Linked DNA regions of Homo sapiens: region 1 is linked to region 2. Evidence: promoter capture Hi-C in human tissues and cell types (Jung and others, 2019). All regions are on one chromosome and are shown on one strand. The core of a region is centred on a gene start or on the middle of the fragment in contact, and the rest is flanking DNA. Distances in the headings are between cores, read along the strand shown. Region 1 holds the start of SRXN1 (sulfiredoxin 1). Region 2 holds the start of NSFL1C (NSFL1 cofactor).

Evidence for each region. Contacts are between HindIII fragments. The study calls those that stand out against the background at their distance.
Region 1: a contact is called between the fragment with the promoter of SRXN1 here and the fragment with the promoter of NSFL1C in region 2, in 1 of the 25 tissues and cell types used here (lymphoblastoid cells).

What each region holds. Positions count from the first base shown.
Region 1 is chr20:650,974-655,192 of GRCh38, reverse strand. SRXN1 (sulfiredoxin 1) reads left to right here and starts at 1,993. Exons shown (of 2, transcript NM_080725.3): 1 at 1,993-2,217. The coding sequence starts at 2,008. It overlaps LOC107985423 (a long non-coding RNA gene), which reads right to left and starts at 2,240. Exons shown (of 2, transcript XR_001754452.2): 1 at 1,719-2,240; 2 at 1-1,404. RefSeq lists a silencer at 1,556-2,115. The HindIII fragment of the contact is 30,072 bases long and covers 1-4,219 here.
Region 2 is chr20:1,464,382-1,468,730 of GRCh38, reverse strand. It overlaps NSFL1C (NSFL1 cofactor), which reads left to right and starts at 1,882. Exons shown (of 9, transcript NM_016143.5): 1 at 1,882-2,011; 2 at 4,305-4,349. The coding sequence starts at 1,907. RefSeq lists a silencer at 1,588-1,857 and an enhancer at 2,152-2,653. The HindIII fragment of the contact is 15,990 bases long and covers 1-2,782 here.

The DNA of each region.
Region 1 (4,219 bases), core at 744-3,243, 810 kb after region 2:
ACCAGGGTCTTTTTTTTCTGAGAGAGTCTCACTCTCTCACCCAGGCTGTAGTGCAACGGCATGATCTCAGCTCACTGCAACCTCTGCCTCTCGGTTTCAAGCAATTCTCCTGTCTCAGCCTCTGGAGTAACTGGGACTACAGGCGCGCGCCACCATGCCTGCCTAATTTTTGTACTTTTGGTAGAGACAGGGTTTCACTATGTTGGCTAGGCTGGTCTCGAACTCCTGGCCTCAAGTGATTCGCCTGCCTCAGCCTTCCAAAGTGCTGGGATTACAGGTGTGAGCCACCGGGCCCAGCCAGAACTGGAGTCTTTGGTCACATTGTTCAACTGCCTCTTTACCAACCTTGGACATACCTACCTCCAAACATTTTATTATGTGAGAAAACAAACCTTCTTATTGCTTAAGCCATTTTGAATTGGGCCATAGATATCTTAACACAGAGAATTTGATACCAGGAAATGAGGCCTCCCTGGGTACACCATGATGATAGAATCAGGCCAGAGCTCCACTTTTCCACTCTAGAAACTGTTATCCTGCCATTCTTACTTCCTGTAATGAGGAAGATGTTTTAGAAGGGATAACTTCCCTCTTGATGAAATTCTCTAATTCTGAATAATTCTGGGGCTGAGGTGTGGGTGTCAGTTCTACTTCTTGAAATAAAGTATCATTTAGGTGCGCACGGGAATTATGTTTCGAAAGGGAAAGGCTGGAGTCTTGGTGTCAGTGTTCTAAGGTTTTGTGAGAGACTAAGAACCCAAAATAAATGATCTTCAACAGCAAAATGGATGTTATGCAATTCACAGAGCACTATGAGCACTCTCTCAATTCACACAACTTTGAGTGATGGGCAGCATGACTTCATTTTACAGACGGGGTTCAGAAAGTGTCAGCAACTGGTGGAAGGCAAAGTAGAAACTCCTGGCTCCCTCCTTCGTCTCCAGTTTTCTCCAGCTGGCAGGGTAAGTATGCATTTCTCCATGTTCGTGCCATTCAGGTTGAGAAGGAAGACAAGCAAACCAGACATGCTTGTCTTCGACCGAGTCTGGGATCGTCCACCTTCCTGCTTGGAGTTGGTGGTTAAGTGGCCCCACAGTTTGGACTCGTGTGACCTGACTTTCATTTCAGCTGACCTTGAACAGCGGGTCTATAACTGCACCTACTTCCAGTAGTGTTGTAATGACACAAACAGACAGTGTGGAACTTGAAGGCAGGGCCCACCCATTGTCAGCGCGACTCCTGAGGGCTCCGTGTGACAGTCACTGTTGCTGAACCAAGGCAGCCAACGGTGGGGTAGAAGGCGGACTCTGGAGCCAGACCGTCTGGATTTGAACGCGGATTCGGCCACTTACTAGTTCCGTGATCTTGGGTACATCACTTAAACCTGTGTCTCAGTCTCCTCTTCTGTAAAATGGGAATAACAGTCATACCTTCCTTGCAGGGTTGTTTTGAGGTTCAGATACGTTAATACACGTGCAAAATGTTCGGAACGACTCCAGACACAGCCGGCGCCAGACTGGAAGTGGAACCGCTGGTGGGGATCATAACCTCGCTGGCTAGGAACCCCAGCAGCGGGGCAGCAGCGCACCGCGGGCTTTGCCGACTCACCCTGGCTGGGCAGGTCCGCCGCGCTCTCCCCCGCCCCCGCCCCCGCGGCCTAAGTCGGCCCGGCCGGTGCGTCACCCGCGCCCCTCCCGCCCCGCGACCTGCAAACTCACCCTGAGTCAGCCCGCCCGGGCGTTTCCACTCCCCGGACGCCGCGCGGCGCAGGGGAGGCGAGAGGCGCCCCCCGGTGGAGAGCCTGAGCCCCGCGCGAGTCTGGCGGCACCTGGCGAGCGGAGCCGGAGTCGGGCTGGGGACCGCGGGGTCGAGGCCGGACCGCGGCGGGGTCGGGGGAGAAACGCGCGCTGCCCTGGCACGGGCCCCCCCCCCCGGCCGCGCGGAATGGTATGGCCCGGCCGGAGTTAAGGCCGGGGGGAGGCGGCGAGTCCCGCGGCGGCGGCGACGATGGGGCTGCGTGCAGGAGGAACGCTGGGCAGGGCCGGCGCGGGTCGGGGGGCGCCCGAGGGGCCCGGGCCGAGCGGCGGCGCGCAGGGCGGCAGCATCCACTCGGGCCGCATCGCCGCGGTGCACAACGTGCCGCTGAGCGTGCTCATCCGGCCGCTGCCGTCCGTGTTGGACCCCGCCAAGGTGCAGAGCCTCGTGGACACGATCCGGGTGAGGCCTCGGGGAGTCCAGCCAACCGGAGGGAGGGCTTCGGAGGAGGGAGGTTGCCGGAGGAGGGAGGTCGCTGCGATGGACGCGAGACGGACTGGTTCCGGGCCCAGCCGGAGCTCAGCCTCTGCTGTGTGACCTTGAGCAAGTAGCTGGGCCTCTCTGGGCCTCTGTTTCCTCACTTGAGCAAGGAGGGAATTGGGCGAGATAATTAAAGTAGTGATGATAACGCTTATAACGCTAGTGCTTGCAGTGGTCCAGGAACTGCAGGAAGTCCCTCAGTTTCCTATGCCAACCCTAGGAGGTAGATAGTGGCTCTTTTGCAGACGAGAACTGAGGCAGGGAAGATTTCAGCGGCTTGACTAAGATCAGGCGCTTAAAAAGTGACACGGCTGGAATTCACACCCAGGCAGCCTGGGCCCCACTGCCCAGCACATGGCCACCGCACTACCCGGAGATAAGCCGTGGGCTCTCATGGCTGTGACAGTCAGTGACAGTGGGACTAGGTGTGTCATATCTGCTGGGAGGCCCTTGTCTGAATGGGAAGTGGGAGAGGTCAAGGGTCAGCTCCACCACTGAGGAAGGGTGTTAAGAATACCGGAGTGATTCTGGCAGGAACTTGGGGGCCCCGCAAGAACAGGTGTCAGGTTAGGCCTACATAACGTTGTGTCCCCTTCCCCCGACCCTTGGAAGGTGAGCACATGAGATCCCTAAGCCCCACCCAGCACCTCTACAGCCACCCCCGATAACTTTCAGTCCTAGTATTTACACTAGTGTCCTCACTGCCTGGAGCCACTTCCCCAGACAACCACAGGGCCTGCTCCCCTGCCTGGTTCAGCTCTCTGCCTCCTTGATCACCCTTGGTCAGAGTCACTGGCCTCTCTAGCTCTCCCCTTAGCCCGAGATGTTTTTCAGGATACCACTTATGTCCACCAGAAATTATATTATACATCTATTTGTGTTGCATTTTATTTTCTGTCTTCCTGACCTCACGTGCACTCCACAAGGGCGAGGACCTCGTCCCATCTTATCTGTTGCCACAATAGTAGCACGGCGCCTGGCTGAGATGGGAAGGGATCTGCCATGCATGCCCTGTCCCACCACTGGGCTTTTTCTCCCGTTGAGAACCTCTTCTATCTCTGCCTTGTCGTTTCTCACTCTTTCTCGGTCTTCCTGTCTCAGTGTCAGGATCTTCCCTGACCATCCCTACCGGGTTAGGAGCTTCTGTGGGCCTGCAGCCACCTGTGTGCCCACCTGCATAGCTCTGATCTCACTGGCTTTTTTTTTTTTTTTTTAAGACGTTGTCTGGGTCTGTCACCCTGGCTGGAGTGCAGTGGCACGATCTTGGCTCACTGCAACCTCCGCCTCCCGGGTTCAAGCCATTCTCCTGCCTCAGCCTCCCAAGTAGCTGGGATTACAGGCGCCCACCACCACGCCTGGCTAATTTTTGTATTTTTAGTAGAGATGGGGTTTCACCCTGTTGGCCAGGCTGGTCTGAAACTCCAGACCTCAAGCGATCTGCCCACCTCGGCCTCCCAAAGTGCTGGGATTACAGCCCACTGGCTTTTAACGTCCTGTCTAGACACCTGCCTTCCGTGCTAGAACCGTAGGCTCTGAGGGCCAGAACCAGCTCTGCCTTTGCTTACATACACCTGTATTAGTTTTCTGGGGCCACTGTAAGTTACCACAAAGTTGATGGCTTAAAACAACACAGGTTTATTTATGGTCAGAAGTCCAAAATGGGTCTTACTGGGCTAACACCAAGCAGGGCTGCACTACTTTCTGTAGGCTCTAGGGGAGAATCCATTTCCTCGCCTTTCCCAGCTTCCAGACGCCACCCACACTGCTTGGCTTATGGCCTCTTCCTCTGTCTTCAAAGCCAGCAACATCAGGCCAAGGCCTTCTCACATCGCATCACTCTGACCTCTTCCTCTACTTCCTCTTCCAGTTTTAAGGACCCTGATAATGGCATTCGACCCATCTAGATAACCTTGGATAATTTCCG
Region 2 (4,349 bases), core at 633-3,132:
ACCTTGAGGAGCTGATCGCCTGCAGATCTTTAAGCTGGGGTTAGTCGTTGTCAGTTTCCAGGGTAGAAAGACCTTACTGGTTGCCAATCGTGAGGTCCAGAGTGAGCCTCTAGCTTCTTGGACTTCCTGGAAAGTTGGGGTGCATTTCGAGTTGACACAATGATGAAAGGGGTAAGTCCTAGGGACCGGGGCTGGTCCTGGGTGGCCTTGCAATAGAAAGGAGAGTCTCACACCACAAAGAAAGGACCCTCCTCCCATGCCTCCTGCCAGGGCCTATTGTGGCTGCAACCATGCTCCTAATAACCTAACCCAAGCCCTAACTCGTTTGTCATATAAACTTAAAGGATTTCTTGCACAGTGTTAATAAGACACCGAATTTTCCAGGAAAGCAACTATTGTGTCAATTGAGGGAAGACTGGACTTTGTGCTGTTCATAACCTGATTAAGAGGGGTTTTGACTAAGCCTGGGCACCTTCTCAAGGTCTCCTTGAGAAAGGGACACCTGAACTGAGAGCTGAAGAATGAGCAGGGGCCGACAGAGGAAGAGGAAGGGAAGAGTGTCCCACGGTGGTGTTGGAAATTAAAGCTCGAAGTCTCAAGGAAAACCAGCACTGAAATAAAAGATTTTTCAGCAAAGCCAATTTACTTCTGCAGAAGGGTGCCACTCACACATCTGGTCTTCAGGAAAGCACACCGAACAAAAGAGAGAAGGGGTTTTTATCCCTAATGCGGTTAGTCGCTGCTTCTGTGTCCTGTTCCCATTGGCTGGGGCTGGACTGCGCAATCTAAGCTAATCCCGATTGGCTAGTTCAAATGGAGCAGAAATGTGGGCTACAGTGGTAGGGCAAGCGGTTTCGGCAGGAAGAAGAGTTTCCGCGGGAATGGCAATTGTAGCGAGGGTATCCAAGGGAACAGATGTGAGTTATAGATTAGGACCCGCGGGAAGGTTGTTTACCGTAACTAGGGGTAAGGAGGTACAAAGAACAAGGAAGTTAGGCTTTGAAAATAGAGAACAAAGAACAAGTAAGCTGAACAAGTAAGTTCCTCTTTGGAGAGGCAAGAGGGCAAAGAAGCTGAGGACCCAGAAGACAGGATTGTGCCTAAGAAAGTGGCCTTGGAGCAGAGGCCCAAAGAAAGCGGGGAGAGCGCCTTGCCCATCGGTAAGGGAAAGGTGCTCCAGGCACAGAAGCAGCTAATGCAACGGCCCTGAGGCAAATGCAAGATAACTGGCAAGTTCCAGGAACAGCAAGGAGGGCAAGGCGCCTGGAGCAGAGGAAGCTAGCGGATCCCTTGATGAGAGGGAGGAACTGGCCCATCTCTCATGGGTCCTGCAGGCAGGCCATGAGACTGTCTTTTATGCGGGGCGAGATAACGAGGCATGGACGTGTTGTGAGCGGAGGCCTAGCCTGTTCAAGGTCTGAATTTTTACCCCTAGAATGTAAGAAGCATGGGAGCAGGGACTTTGTTTTGCTCCCTGCCATATCCACAGCCCTAGAAAAACGTCGGGCCATTGATAGCTCTCAGTAAATGCTTGACAAGTAAGTGAATGAACGAATGCACAATTAATGAAATGAGGGCTGCGTCAATGAATAACTGGGAATCTGACTCCTGCAGGGAGCCTTCAGCCCACAGGTGTATGTAAGACCCGCCCCGCCTCTCATCCTTCGGGCTCCCACCCCCGCCGTTAGGCTGCGGTTCGCGCCGCGGTCGCCAGAGGGCGCGGAGCGGCGGGGCTTCCCGCACGGAGGGCTTTGCGTGAGGCACCGCGTGGGGCGGGGCTGCGGGCGGGCTCCCAGCTGCTGGGCCCTCATCGGCTGGGCCTCGTCGACCGGCAAGCGGAACGCGGCAGCGGGGCTGGGCCTGTGCGGCGGCCGCCGGAGCGCTTTGGAAGGCGCACGGGGCGAAGATGGCGGCGGAGCGACAGGAGGCGCTGAGGGAGTTCGTGGCGGTGACGGGCGCCGAGGAGGACCGGGCCCGCTTCTTTCTCGAGTCGGCCGGCTGGGACTTGCAGGTAGCGCCGCGCGGCGGGCTGTGTCGGGTGGGCCGGGGACTGCTGGGAGCGGGCGCCTGGTGCCTTAAGCCCGCGGCGGCCGAAGCGCACAGTCATCCCCGCTCTACCGCGGCCCGACCCAGGCCTCATGGTCCCGGGACCGCTTGTCACGCGTCGCCTGCTCGGCTTGGGAGTGGGGGAACGCGGGCCAGCCCCAGCCAGTTCTGCCGTGCCAGTTTCACCCTGCCTCGCCCGCTTGCGGCGTCAGCGAGACTTCGGGCGCTGCGGCAGCCGGCGAGGAGAGGGAGCGCCTGGGGGCGTGGCTGCCGCGCCGAGTATCTGCTGGAGGCCGGGCTGGTCCGAGTGAGCAGCTCTTGGGTGAAGCCCCACTCGGGACTAGGTGGCCGCTCATTTCCACTTCCGAAGTCCAGCCCGGGAGTTGACCGCCGCCCAGCCTTCCTAATTGCTGGGAGAATACCTCTGGGGTGGTGGCGCAAGGTTGGAGCTTCTTCACCTTGCGTAGTTAACTTATCTGTAAAATGGGAGTCTCGTGGAAATTGCTGTGTAGTTCATTGGCACGTACTGAGTATTCACTAAATACTTGCTAAGAAGACTTAAGCTTCACGAGGCAGGGATTTTTGTACACTGATGAATTCCCAGTGCCTGGAACAATGCCTGGCACATAATAAGCATTCGGTAATTAACTGTAGAAAGAATTGCATAAATATTCTTGGCCAGCTTCGTCTTAGGTAGATGATGACGGTGATGACTAATATTTATTGAGTACCTACCATGAGCCAAGCGCTGTTCTGACTGCTTTACATGTCTTTTGTCATTTAACCTTCGCATTTTGCAGCTGAGATTAAAGAGGTTAAGTAACTTGCTCAAGGCCTCACTAGCTACCAGGCAGAAGAGGTAGAAGTGGAACCCAGTTCTGTCTGATTGCAAGCAGACAGAGCCCAAGCTTTAAACCACCATGTGCCAAGCACTTTACATAATATGATTCGTTGGATCCTAGCAACACTATGAGGTAAAGACTAGACCCATTTTATGGATGAGGAATTGGAAGCACAGAGGGCAAAGAATTTGCTCAGGGTCACATAGCCAGTAAGTAGCGGGGTTGGAATTTGAACTGAGTCTGCTGCCAAACGTAAATTACTCCCCAAACATAAGAATTCGGTAAAGCATCACACCTAGATCACACCTAGACACAATGGGAAGCCCCTATGCTGGGCAGAAATAAAAAGTTTCTACCTGAAAGACCTAAAAGCACACAGTGTTGTGACCAACAGATCTTCTGTCTCGTTCCCCTCACATTGTAGTGGGGAAACTGAGGATCATGCATGTGACTTGCCTGGCAGGAACAGGACTTGAATGTAGGCTCCCTGAGAATGCCAGTTCACTACATGGCCTGAGACAGCACACTGCCTCCCAGCAGATTACTTTTATCCCTTGACAGCTCACTGTCTCCTGTGAAGTTGGTGACCCTGAGGACAGAGGCCATGTCTATTTCATCTCTGTGACCTCAATGCTTTCTTGTGTTTGTGCAAAGCAAGTGATTAGTGAATGCCTGTCCGTTGAGTTGGTGACAGAGATGTCACAAATGACCAAAGGATTCCCATATTCCTTCTGTATGTGTAAACCTAAGATGCGAGTATGCATAAATCTTAATGGATTATCTCATCCAGTGTGCAGGTTGGTGAGACAGGTACCCCCATTTCACAGATTAGGAAACAACTTGAAAGAAAGGAAAAGTAGCAACCTGGACTGACTCCACAGTTCCTGACTCCGGGCTGTACTGGAAGCGCTTAAGAGTGAGGGCCTAAGCACACTAGCAGGGATGGAACCTGGCTCCTCTCTTTACCAGTTGTGTAAACTTGAACAAATTTTTTTTTAATCCTCAGTGCTTCTGTATCAACTATAAAATGAGATGATAAGAGTACTAATAGCATAGAGTTCTTGAGGATTAAACAAATTAACGTATGTAGAATGCTCAGAACAACCTGGCATGTAAATGCTCACTAAATGTGTGCTACTTTTACTAGATCACGTTTCTTCATAAAATGAGAATAAAGAGTGTCTTCCACCCCAGCCATTCTTACTGCCTTCTTTTCACCTTAGTGGGTGGAATTTGTTTCAGTTGACACGAAGACTAACAGCTGAGCTGTTAACCTTCTGGTCTAATTTTCTTTGGCCCATGGATGCAAGCTACCTTGTAAGTGTTGGCCATGTCTGTATTCCTTTGTGCTCAAAGGAGATGTGCGTTAGGTGAAGGCCTGTTTAAGGGTCCCAAGGTACTACCTCTCTGTTTCAGATCGCGCTAGCGAGCTTTTATGAGGACGGAGGGGATGAAGACATT